Linked DNA regions of Homo sapiens: region 1 is linked to region 2. Evidence: promoter capture Hi-C in 16 types of primary human blood cells and fetal thymus (Javierre and others, 2016). All regions are on one chromosome and are shown on one strand. The core of a region is centred on a gene start or on the middle of the fragment in contact, and the rest is flanking DNA. Distances in the headings are between cores, read along the strand shown. Region 1 has its middle 31 kb from the start of ARHGAP22. Region 2 holds the start of MAPK8 (mitogen-activated protein kinase 8).

The links. Contacts are between HindIII fragments. The CHiCAGO score rates a contact against its expected background, and 5 or more counts as called.
Region 1: a fragment that was not itself captured here is called in contact with the fragment with the promoter of MAPK8 in region 2 in 1 of 17 cell types (monocytes); the score reaches 5.8 in monocytes.

The regions. Positions count from the first base shown.
Region 1 is chr10:48,632,649-48,639,126 of GRCh38, reverse strand. It overlaps a transcript of ARHGAP22 not described here. Among named protein-coding and RNA genes, the nearest start is that of ARHGAP22, 31 kb to the right of the region's middle. The HindIII fragment of the contact is 1,681 bases long and covers 2,481-4,161 here.
Region 2 is chr10:48,305,229-48,311,413 of GRCh38, reverse strand. It overlaps MAPK8 (mitogen-activated protein kinase 8), which reads right to left and starts at 4,737. Exons shown (of 12, transcript NM_001323329.2): 1 at 4,593-4,737. RefSeq lists a silencer at 4,157-5,106. The HindIII fragment of the contact is 3,503 bases long and covers 3,022-6,185 here.

The DNA of each region.
Region 1 (6,478 bases), core at 2,072-4,571, 330 kb before region 2:
GAGGACTGAGCTTAGAGAAGTGGGATGGGAATTGCCCTAACAAACAGTACAACAGTGCAAAGCAGACTCATTCTGTTCTTACTCAAAGTTTAGAAGTTTTTCAAGCATAACTACTTTTCTGATTGTTGCATGTCTTTGGTCAATTTCCAGAGTACAGAAATGGTTGTTTATGTCAGTTTTTTCAAGATTTATGATTGTGTTTTTGGGAGAGAATTTGCTGACTTCATCATTTAGCCATAGCTGGAAGTCCTGCCTTTTACTTCTTTTTTTCAAGTTTCCCATATCCGCTTTCTTATTAGGATATAGGCACGATCTTGCAGGCATTATTGCCATTATCCCTTTGTTCATTAAGCACCACTAGAATTAGGAGGGGAAGGGGAAGTTTAAAGATAGAGCTCTTTGCACGGTGCCTAGAATTATGCCTGGCACATAATATATGTTTAATACTTGTTTGTTGAATGAATGAATAAATAGCATGGAGATGGGACTAATGGTGGTCAGGTGACCTTCCTGAGGGCTTGAGTAAGTAAGAATGTAGAGGGAAAATGAGGTTCAAGAGATACTGGGAAGAAAAATGGACAACACTTGACAGTACTGGGCAGGGGAGGCACTCAGGTGTCTGGGGTTTCTAGCTGGGTAATGAGATGATTAGTTTTAGTGGTACAAGGTAATCCTGCAGAAGCCAGGGCCCTTCATCATTAAGCTAAACATACACACACACACACAACACACACACTCCTGGCCCGCGAGTTGAAGAAGCTGCCCAAGGCTTCATGGGAAGGTGGAACAATGGCAGGCCCAGCTGCTGCTTCACACTGATGAGGTGATTCCACTGATCAGCAGCAATGTATGTCTCCCAAATCCCCCCAAGAATCTCCCCGTGGCACAGACTTATAGGAAAGATACACAAAAGGGAATCCTGGGAAGTGTAACTCAGCCTAGCCAAGTTGCATTACGAAGCAGCTACCAGACCTCATTCTGTAGTTTCTGTTAGGGGAAAACGGTGGAAGATTGGAAGCCATTCTAAGATTCTAAGGGAATGGCTCTAGGAGGGGTAGTGGATGGGCAGAGGGAGAAGAGACCAGAGCAGGGAGAGCTACTAGGCAGGAGACTACTTAAGCAGTCCAAGGGAGAGCTTATGAGAATATAGGCCAAAAAGTGGTGGTAGAAACATAAGAGTCTAAGAAGATGGAATGCACAAGTGGCTGGCAGCATGTGGAAAAGGGGGAGAAAGAAGGTAAGTTGATGCCAGCCTACTGGCTTTAGCAGCGAGGAGGATGGAGACATCCTTGTTGGGAGGGGAATGTAGGTGAAGGGGTAGGTGAAGTGAGGATACTTTGTGCCTTTTCTTACTGACCCTTCCAGCAGGTTCTGCCTTCTTTTCATCCCGTCTCACTGATCCCAGCACCATCCATTCACCCATTCATCCACAATTCATCCATCCACCCATCCACTCATCCACCATCCATCTATCCATCTATCCATCCATCTATTCACCCATTTGCCATCCATCCATTCACCCACCCATCCACCATTTATCCATCCATCTACCCATCCATCCATCCATTTACCCATCCATCCATCCATTTATACATCCACCAGTCATTCATCCACTCATTTCTTTACCATCCATCCATCTACCCACCCATCTACCATCTATCCATCTACCTACAAATCCACCCATTCACCCACCCGTCCATCCACCCACCCATCCACCCACTCATTCACCATTCATCCATTGGCTACTCATCTGCCACTCATTCATTCACCATCCATCCATCCATCTGTATACCTGTGTCCCCTGTCGGCCATCTCTGGACAACAGCTCTGTGAGTGATGAATGACACCTATTGTGTGGCCTCACACAAGCAATAATTCATGGCTCCTTTCTACCCCTTGCCCCCCACCTCGACACAATAGTTGGAGCCTGTCTCCATCTGCAGCTTCAGAAATATGGATGCCCAGGGCAGTAAACTCTCAGTGGCATTCATCTAGAGGCCTGGTTGGCTTCTGGGGAGATCAGCTTCTCAGAGACTGGCCTGGCAGGGATGGCAGCAATGTGTATGCAGGCAGCTTTTCTGATTGTCCTAACCACCCATTCTGGCCCTTCACGCTGGAGCTCTCAGAATGAAGCTAAAGTCCTGGCCATCATGAGAAAGCCTCTCAGACTCCGGCCCTCCCTGATATGTCTTCTGCCCACCCCAATGTACTATTCCAACTTGTTACCTTTTACTTTCATATCCTGATTCTATGAGTGGCTCTGCTTCCTGAACCCTTTGTCCTGTCCCTTCTGACTTCCCTCCCAGCACTCTGGGTTTTGCATGCCACTCAAGGTCTGGGCTTTGCCTGCCCACTTCGTGGCCTCTTTGTGGTGACCTCAGGTGAGAACTCCTCACTGGTCTCCCACTGTCCTACTAGCGATGACTATAGCCATGGGTCTTGAGCTGGTACTGTTTGCCAGCAGTCATGGCTCTAAAGCTTGGACACACATAACACGTGTAAAGATATATCCCCTCCTCTCTAGGAGATCGTGGTCTGCAAAAGGGCAGGGCTGTGGTGCAGGTGGTACAAGGAGCAGCAAGAAACAGGAGGACCCCGATGCAACCCATGGATTCAGGGCAGGGTCTCAGAGCAGGGAGAATCCCTGTTGGCTCTTGGAGCCTGGGCAGGAGCAGCCCAGTGGGCAGACTCAAGCAGACATTCCTGGAAGAGGACCAGGGCCATACCACAAGCTCTAAGGCCTCCATCCTGCTCACCCCAGTCTCCCTGCACAAGCACCAAGCATGGGACACAGGCACACAGACAGCATGGATGCAGGGCTGGGCTGGAAAGACCCAGACACCCTGAATGTCTCCTTCATGCAGTGTCCCCACAGCTAACATGCCTTTATCGACAGCCACCAGAGAAATGCTGAAGCTGTGCAGGGCAGAGGAAGAAGGAGCAGCCATGTCATTAACCCCTTAACCCCCAAGCCTCTCCAGGATGTTCACCTGCACCTGGCAGCACAGGACCCCTGGGAAATGAGTCTGAAGATGGAGATTTTCCTTCTTCTTTCTTTAATGAAAAGAGAGAGAGAGTAAGGACCTGATGCTACCACCAAACTAAAAATAATAATAAATAACAACATTGAGATCACCTTGCACGGTTTACAACTCTCTTCAATATCCACAGGGGTGATGTCATTTAATTCCTGTAGCCAGCTTGCAAGATATTAATGTTCCCATTTTACAGAGGAGAAAACTGAAGCTCAAAAGTGCAGTCCTTCCATCCTGCTTCCCCAGCCAGGAAGTAGTCTAAGTTTATGTTGTCCAATAGCAGAGCCTAAGACAAGGGCTTGGGTGCAGGTGGTTTATTTGGGAGGTGATGCCAGGAAGCAGGACTGATGGGGCAAAGAGTGACACCAGGAAGGAGGGAAGGCCAGTGTGAGGGGCATAATGAAGGTTGCTGCTGTCCCAAGACTCACTTCCACAGGGACTCTGGGAAGAGTGCAGACTCACCTGCCATAAGCCTGGAAGGGGAGAGGGTGGGGGTTACCCGGCCCCCTTTCTCCCTTGGCTGAGGGCAACCCCAGGGGTGTGGACACCCAGCCCTTCTGGACTGCATTTGTTTGCCCAGGGCTTAGGGTCCCTGTGGCTTCAGAGAAAGCCGAGGGCTGAGAGCCTGGAGCGGGAAGCCATCAGTGGGCTCACCTAAGAGGGGACGTTTCACCACAGCTGTGGCTGAACTTGGAGCTGGCCAAGGGGCTGGGACAAGTTACGGAGCACCCAAAGCTGTGCTTCAAGCTATAACCTAAACCCCAGGCATTTTTCTCTTACCAACCTTGGAGGAGTATGAAACTAGTCATGCCTGAGGAGACAGGGAGTCGGGGTCCAGGGAAACACCAGGCCCAGTGCAGAAGTGGGGGTGGGGGCAACAAGAGACAGAGGCCCAGAAACAAGGTGAAGTGCTTCATTCACGGTGGACCCAGAAGGAGCCTAGCCTCCAAGAGCCTCCCATGGGTGCTGGAATTCCCTTGTTCACACTGAGGAAGAGGGAGGGCAGGTACATGAGTCTGCTCGGGCTGCCATGACAAAGCACCTCGGGCCCCAGGGCTTTCACAACATACATGTATTTTTTCCCATTCTGGAGGCTGGAAGTCTAAGATCAATGTGTTAGCAAGCTTCTTTCTCCTCTCTCCTTGGCTTGTAAATATCACCTTCTTCCTGTGTCTTCACACAGTTGGTATCTGTGTCCTTATCTCCTCTGCTTATAAGAACTCTAGTCATATTGGACTAGGGCCCACCCTAATGACCTCATTTTAACTTAATCACTCATTTTAACTTTGATATTTAAAGGCCCTATCTCCAAATACAGCCACTTTCTGTATGGGGCGGTGGGGGTTAGGCTTCATCATGAACTGGAGTCGGGGGACACAATTCAGCCCTCTTGCTTTCCTGGGCTCAGAGCTGTCAGCCCTGAGAAGCAGAGGAGAGTCTATTCCAAAGAACAGGCTGGGCAGAGCCTCAGAGAGTGTCTAGACAGATGCCCTGCCAGCCACACTACCCTCTAGGGAGCCAAGCGGAAGCCCAGGCTCACCCACCCCCAGCCACAGAACCAAATAAGGGCTGAGTCAGCGGCTCTTCTTAGAGACCCAGTTTCCTACAATGGTTTCTGTTTCTGCACATCTGGGAGAAATGATTTGACTCTGGGAATGGTTGTGAAATGGGCAAACCACAGTGCAGGCTCACCGCCCTCTGCACCCAGCAGCTTATCCTCTCCTATGGCCCAGCTCTGTGGGGGCAGAGCACTTTTCCCTGTTGGCTAGATGAGGAAGCAGAAGATCTGAAGTTTACTGACTTGCCAAAAGCTCACAGCTAGTTAGTGGCAGACAGGACTCAACCCAGATCTGAGCTGACCCATCTTTAGTGCTCACTCACAGCAGTACCTCTGCTTTTAGGGACATTGATGGCACCTTTTGGCTGCTCCCATCAAATCCGCCACCCAAATCTGAAAGTACCCATTCAGCTACCCATGATACTACTGAGCTACTAGTGCAAACTGGCTTCTCTCAACAGGTGAGCTGGCTAGCAGATAACACTTCCTGCCAGTTATCATAGAAACAAGCGTGGGAGGAAGCAGCATCCTGGTGGCCAGGAAGAAGGTGAGGGAGAACATAGGGCATAGATGCCCATGGTGTCAACTCTCAGACACCTGCCCCAGAGATTTCCAGGAGTCAGGGCATCCCGCAGCCAGCTTGGCCCAGCATTCAGTTAGGAAAGGCTCTCCCTCCTCCCATGCCCAGCCCTCTGCTCCCTCCTCCTCTTAGCCCCGTGGAATGATCCTGTCTCTATTAACCTGCCCATCTCCTTCTGCAGATGGATGTCAACAGGGATTTTCTTGTGGAAAGTCCACAGGGAAAGCCAGCCCTCCCTCCCTGCTGCTGGCATCATTTTCCCACAAAATGTAAAAACAGTCTAGAGAAAGCCAGGCCTGGGTGTGGATCCAGGTTCTACCACCTGCTTACTCTATGCCCTTACTCAAGTGATATAATCTCTCTGCTTCATTTCCTCATTGTAAAAGTGAGACCACAATAGGCCATATCTCACAAGACTGTAATAAGGATTACATGTCTAATTAAAAGAAAAGAGTTCAAGGAAAGGCACAGGGTAAACCCTGAATAAGTGGGAACTCCCTTCCAGACAAACAATCAGATGCCACTGTTAATCTCTGGCTGAGAATTGTTTCCTTTGGGAATTTTTTGAAAACCAAGTGATATGATGGAGACTCTGGACACAGGAACCCTACATTTGGAGCTTTCTCCCAGTTTTACTTCTCCAGCATGCAGTCACTGCAAACCTCAGACCTGGGAGTCTCAGAGGAAGGTAGATTGTCTGCAGAAATGAGAGCTGACTGGGGCCATTAAAGGTGGACAGGCCTGGGAAATGATCTCAAAAGTTTCCTAAGGGTTGATAATTTATTCAGTCACCCAGCAAACATGAGTTGTGCCAGGCACTGCTCTAGGCACTGGAATACAGCAGGCAACATAATTGGCAAAAACTCTTACCTTCTGGAGCTCATGCTCTTCTCATATCATCCAATGGAAAGGCCTGAGGGAACTGTCCACTGATGTCCTCCGTGTGGCAGGTGATGTCCTCTGGCAGGTGACTCAGGATCTTCCAGGGGTAGATGAAGGAAAAGAATAGTCAGCGTTGTGCAGTAGTGATGAAAATGGAAAGACTCTGGCTTCTGGTTTCATCTTTGACATGTGAAAAGCTTAGACATTTTCACTCTCATCCTTACAACAAGGTAAAATCTGTGCAAACTTAAAATCAATGATTTCGCTCTGGCATCTGCAGACACAGCAAATATTAAAGACGGCACAGCTCCTAGCCTGGGTGGTTTTGGGAACACCCCCCAATTTGCAGTTGGTGTTGGAAGTGAGGCTGGTCTTGTGAAGACCTGTGTGCACTCTAAACTTGGAGTTGGCCAACTCCAGGCA
Region 2 (6,185 bases), core at 3,488-5,987:
TAAGATAGAGAGGATTACTGGTCCAAATGTTAATATAAATCATCTCAGTCAATTCAGATTACATGAGATGATCGAATTTTAAATAAACCCCCCAGAGATGCAGAGTGAAACAAATGGCATATTCTGGAGAATTAGAATGGACACTGTGCATTAAACTGGTTTGACGTTTACTTGGCATTTTATGTTTGTTCAAAGTTAAATATAAGTGATAACAATAGCAAAAACTACCTGAATACTTGTATCTAGCATTCCAGCCACCACAACAGTGCCAGGCACTTTACATGCAGTACCTAATTTAAACCTCACAGCCCTATGAGGTTACGTGCTATTATTATTCTCATTTGACAGATAATAAAACAGGCCCAAATATGTTATATAACCTGAACTAGCCTATACCACAGTTAGATTGGAGCACGATTAGAACTCAGGGCTGACCTTAAAACCCACGCTAGCAATCATTGTAAGGTTTGAGTTCCTTGACTTTCTAAAGAATGGCAGATTTTAACTAAATCTGAAATATAATAAAGGGTAACAGGAAACACAGGTATCTCTTGTATTTGTGATATAACCCACCTCCAAGAAAAAGAATGGAAGCTACTAAGTTTTCCAAAAAGGGGTCTCCTCTCTGTCTCTCTCCATGCACATACGTATACACACATACACACACACACACACACACACACAATTTTAAAAACTGGATTTCAGTGAAATTTGGCCTGCACAGAGATGTGAAGTGGGCTTTTGTTTGGCGGGAACCCTTTCATATACCTTTTAAAAGAGCATAAATTAACTGTTTAGCGATGCCTTCAGTCTAATCCTTGATTATAAGCTTCCTGAGGATAATGAACTCATTTTATGTCTTCCACAAAGTCTCTGGGAGCATACGGTCTCATTAGAAGGCATGATGCTGTGGAATAAATAAAAGCCTACCTTTCCAAGAATCTCTAGCTTATGGTGAAGCCTTCCATTTGTTTTCTAAGTCTGGATATTAAAGAAAAAATTCAACTCAACAATTTTTTTGGCTTCTGAAAATTACAAAATTACAAAATCCTAACTTTGACTACTGTTCTTAACTTAGGCTTCTGATTATCACCCAAGAAGGGCTCTTTTTGTCCTAGTATGTTTTCTCAAGAACCACCTATCTGAGGAACAAGCCTTCTATAAAAAAAAGTTCTGACAGCCTCAGTTTATACTTTTAAAGCCAAAAACATTAAGGCACTTGCCTAAAGCTCCAGAATTTGATGACAAAGTCCAGATGGCAGAACTGAGAAATGAACCTAGGTCTGATTCCTGGATTGCTCTAGCTCCACCTATTGACCTGAATGACAGGATAACTCATTTCAATACTCCTGTTACCTTTCAGTCAACTCACTTCTGAAATCAAAGTTCAACTTAACCTGCATTAAGAGTAAGAATGCAAGGCTTCTAAATGTTCAGGTAAAGAGCTCATGATTAAGACAATCAGCATCACAGTTCACTGACATAGGCAAATGATTCATATATAAAGCTATGTGGTTATAATGACTTCCTTGGACCACATGAATCAGAAAAGCTACTACCCATACCATTGACTTGACCAGAGACCTCTAGAGCACTGGAATCCTAATGTCAGACATTATTTTGTATTTCCACTCGTGCAACAAAGCATCTCAACCATGTAGATGACTGAAATATGTCAAAATTCAACCCGCTGGCAAAGCAGACCAACAAGAAGCAGGCTCCTATTCAACAACCTCTTAGCACTAGGATAGTTGGGGACTAGTCATTTAACAACAAATTCCTTCAAGTTGTTTCACTGAACATCTCATCCTCACAAGGTCACTTTGATAATATCAGGCATGGAGCAAATAGTTAAGATTATAACCACATTAATTTGTATACAATTTATTCTTGCACTGACTTCCTTTCCAAATGGCATTTCCCCCAGGATCTAAAGGAGTATGAAGGATATAGTTTCCTATTCTGCCAGGACAGGACATTTAAAAGGAGCCCTTTTCATACTTACTAAAGGAATATATTTACTAACAGAATCGATGCTATATCTCTTACTTTAAAGGATAATTTGAAGTGAAATTCAGAGTGACTGCTAATGGATATGGTGTTTCTTCTTGGGGTGATGACAATGTTCTGGAATTAGTGATGGTGATCAAGGCACAACACTGTGAAAATACTAAAAACCGAAATATATACACTCTAACTGGTGAATTTTATGTCAATTAAATTGCAATAAAGCTATTTTTAAAAACCAACAATTTGGAAAACAAAGTAACACAACTCTGGTTCTTTACACAGCCTGTGAGCTACTGCCAAAGGATTGTCAGTAACCCCTACTAGAATCTGACATACCCTAACTAGGTAAAGCAATAAAACTTTGGTATCTCAAAGATTTTCAACCATCATCTTAAAAAAGTATTATTTTCTTATTTCTTCATTTCCACTTTACAGCAAATAATAAGAAACTCATTAGTTAACTCATTTCATATTCTTTCAAATACAAAACAAACGCTAAACTGTATTTAGTAAGTGGAAAAGAGCTTTAACTTCGATAAATCAATTATTTTGAGTTTTAGGCTCATATTTTGTACCAATTGTGTTAATACAAGTTAGAACTTAAAACCAAACATTTCAAGTAAACATTTCTAAAATATTAGAAATATTTCTAATAAAACATTTATGTGGTTTTGTCCTCAATTTTCCACAATAAGAGTCACCAAAAAACTTTCAAATAATATTCACAAAATTATAAATGCAATCATTTTAGACCCCTACTGAAATACCAGTTTATGAGTGCCTGTGTGTGGATTACGTACATGCACACACACGGACACACATAAACTAGCACATACACAGAAACACACACTCCACAACCTACTTTATTTATCATATTAAAAAAATATTTAGACAAGATTTTATTTTAGGACAGTGAATGACCTACACGTGATTCAAAAGCCCATGTCATCATAACAGATAATGTACATGAACTGACCATTTAGCCATCTGATGCGACAGTTGCATGAAGCTTCCAAAACTTTATGGAGAACATTACGGTTTTTTTTAAGGCTTGATTTTAAATATTATCAATTACAAAGAGCTTTTCATCAATCCGACTTTTATTGAACACTTACTATATTCCAGGCTAGGTGGTGGAGAAACAGATGCAAGACAGGCCTGCCCTCAAGGAAGTCCCATTTTGATTGCTTGCTTTTGTCAGGCACAGCACTAAACATGTTCACTTAGAGCATCTGACCTCCTAGGTTTAACGTTAACCACAGCAGGGGAATCTGAGGTAACCATTACAAATGACTGTAAGGCTGCAAGACTGGAAAAAATAAAATTTAGAAATAAATAAAAGCTGTTGTATATTTAGACCAAATCTAATTCTACTTCCTATTACACTTGAACTTCCAGATATACTGCTTAAAAAATGACCCAGAATATAACCATACCTTCCTTAACAGACATCACTTATGTAACTGTCTCATTTAAAGGTCCATCTATTATACTTCAGTCAAAGCATCCTCTTCCATGAAAGGATACTTTACCTTCACACCAAACCTCTTCATCTGAGTACGGTACTAAACAGCTGCTGAATGAATGAATGAATGAAAAAACAGATGTTCTAATTGCCAAGGAGGTACTTGCTGGATGCTTATCTCAAAACACAATGGACTGACGGACCAGAATTCTACTGGAAAGATCGCTGGATTTCAGAGGTAAAAATAGTAATCACTGGACAATGCCATGTAGTCAACATGTTATTAAATTCGCAGTAAAGACCAAGCAGGGAACTTTCAGAAATAAAAACGGAAAGTGTTCATCAGGGTACTTTAAAATGGACTTGGTTCTACCATCTCTGAATCGGGAACACAAATGCGAGACAAAGAGATGGGAGGGTGGGGTGAAAAAGTCAAAAGGTCACCACCGATGACCCTCAAGAGAAATGCGCGCTGACCACCGAAGCTCGGGCCAAGCTGGATGGACACCTCCCACCCGAGCCACGGGCCTGGGCTCTCTGCCCTGCAGCCCAGAGCTGCAGGCCACTCTGGCCCTTTTCAGCGCTGCTGCCTGCGTTCGCCCAGAACGTTAGCACAAAGAAAGCATCGAGAAGCAAAATACGGTCCCTATGGGCGCGGGGCAGGCTTGGGGACCTGCCGGCAGAAGCGCTCTCCCCGGCTCCCCGCCGCCCCGGAGGCAGCCAGGGCGCGGCGGGCCGCAAAGACACCTCCGTCCGACCCTTGCCGAAGTGTTTCAGAACTTGCCACCCACCCCCCCGCTCCATTTTCTTCTCCCGCCGCGGAGGCAGGACCCACGCGAAGAGGACGCGAGAGGACAGGCGGGCGGGGCTCGCGGCGGCAGGCGGGCTGGCGGGCAGCGGAGCGCACCCAGGTCCCGCAGCCCCACGCCCCCTCGGCTGGCCCCCGCCTCCGCGCCGCTATTGTTCCCGCGCCGCCCCCGCCCACCGCGCGCTCCCGCCCCCACTCCCAGGAGGGGGTTACGGCTGAGGAGAAGGCGGCGGCGGCGGCAGCGGCACAATAACATAAACACGACGGGGCCGCCTGCCGTCCCGGCCCTGCGGCGTCCGCCGCACTCACCCGGCAGCGCAGCGAACGGCGACAGGGAAGCCCGCCAGCGGGGACAGGGGCCGTCCGGGGTGGTCGCCGCGGCCGTTACCCAGCGCTGCTCGCGGCTCCGCAATCCAAGCCGCGTCGTCCGGCCTCGGCCGCTCGGCTGAGTAACAGAGACGCGGGCCGTCACCGCGCACGCCCGCGCACGTCATCGCGCAGGGCCCCGCCCCCGCGCCTCCCGAGCGGCCGGCGGGGCGGGGCAGCCCCGGGGCCCGGATTGCGGGGGCGGGGCCGCCGCCCGGGGACGGCGCTACTCCAGGGGTTACGAGAGGACTTGCGGAGGTCGCTTGGAGGCGGAGCCGCGGAGAGAGCCTCCGAGGGCTGTGGGTGAGGGGCGTGGCCTGGAGCGGGAGGGGCGGGCCCTGTGGCGGCACGTGGCGGCGCGTGGCCCCAGGGGACCGCATCTGGTTGGCGGCGGTAGCCAGGTCAGAGCTTAAGCCTTCGGGCCTCGTCGGCACAGGGTTGAAGGGCAGGTGCGCTTAGGCCTAACCTGCGCAGCGAACAGGCACCCCCTTCCGGTACACACACCTGAGTGATGAAGAGCTGGTTACCTTGACCGACAATATGTTCCATTCTGAGGACACCTGTCCGGGTCCCAGAAACCTACAGAGAGATAAGTGTTCTCTTCAGCTGCCCGGGAAAAGCTGCCTCCAGTTTTTCCAAAATCCACCTCCTCCGAGATTCCTTGCAAATCCACCTCTTCCCAGATTCCTTGCATTACCTGGTTTACTTCTGAGGCCCCACAAAGCGTGTAAATGTTACAGAAGCGATAAATTGACAAGTCCTTTAAATATCCAACAACGGGTGGAAAGGCGTTTGAACTACCTACACCATTCGGTAGAATACATTTTAGCAATTTAAATGCCATGTGTTCAAGGAATTCTTAACAACATAGGAACATGTTCACAATGTATCATTAAGAGAAAGAAGCAAGAAACAAGTCATATATAGAATGGTCCCACTTAGATACTATATATACACATAGAAAAAACCTGGAAAGAAATACACCAAATTATGTTAACAATGGTTCATCATTGGACTATGGAATAAAGGGTGACTTGGTTCTCGTTTATACTTTGGGTATTTTCTCATGTTTTCCGAGAGGAATAGTTATGTTCACAATCAGAAACAAGTAAGTTACTTTAATAATGAATATATAAATATTTGTTGAATAAATGAATGATTTCAGGTAAACTACTTTCCTATTACATGTGGGGCTGGCCTGTTTCTGGTGATTCTGAAAGGGAACATACAGATGATTATTCATTCATTCTCTTCCCATTTCCTCTCTCCCTCCCTCTCAACCTTCTTAATTTCCTTCCTGCCATCCTTTGTTCCTGCAATAATTATTTATTGCATGCCCATTCAGTGCCAGGCAATACAGTAGAGTTTACAGATTTAATCACTGTACTATGAAAGTAATAATAGTAAACGCAAAATTATCACTGTTTTATAATACAAATTGTTAAGGATACATAATACTATGAAACCAATTAATACACTAGTTAATAAGGCCAGAAAAGATTTCCCTGAGGAACTGTCACTTGAGCTGGGAATAGG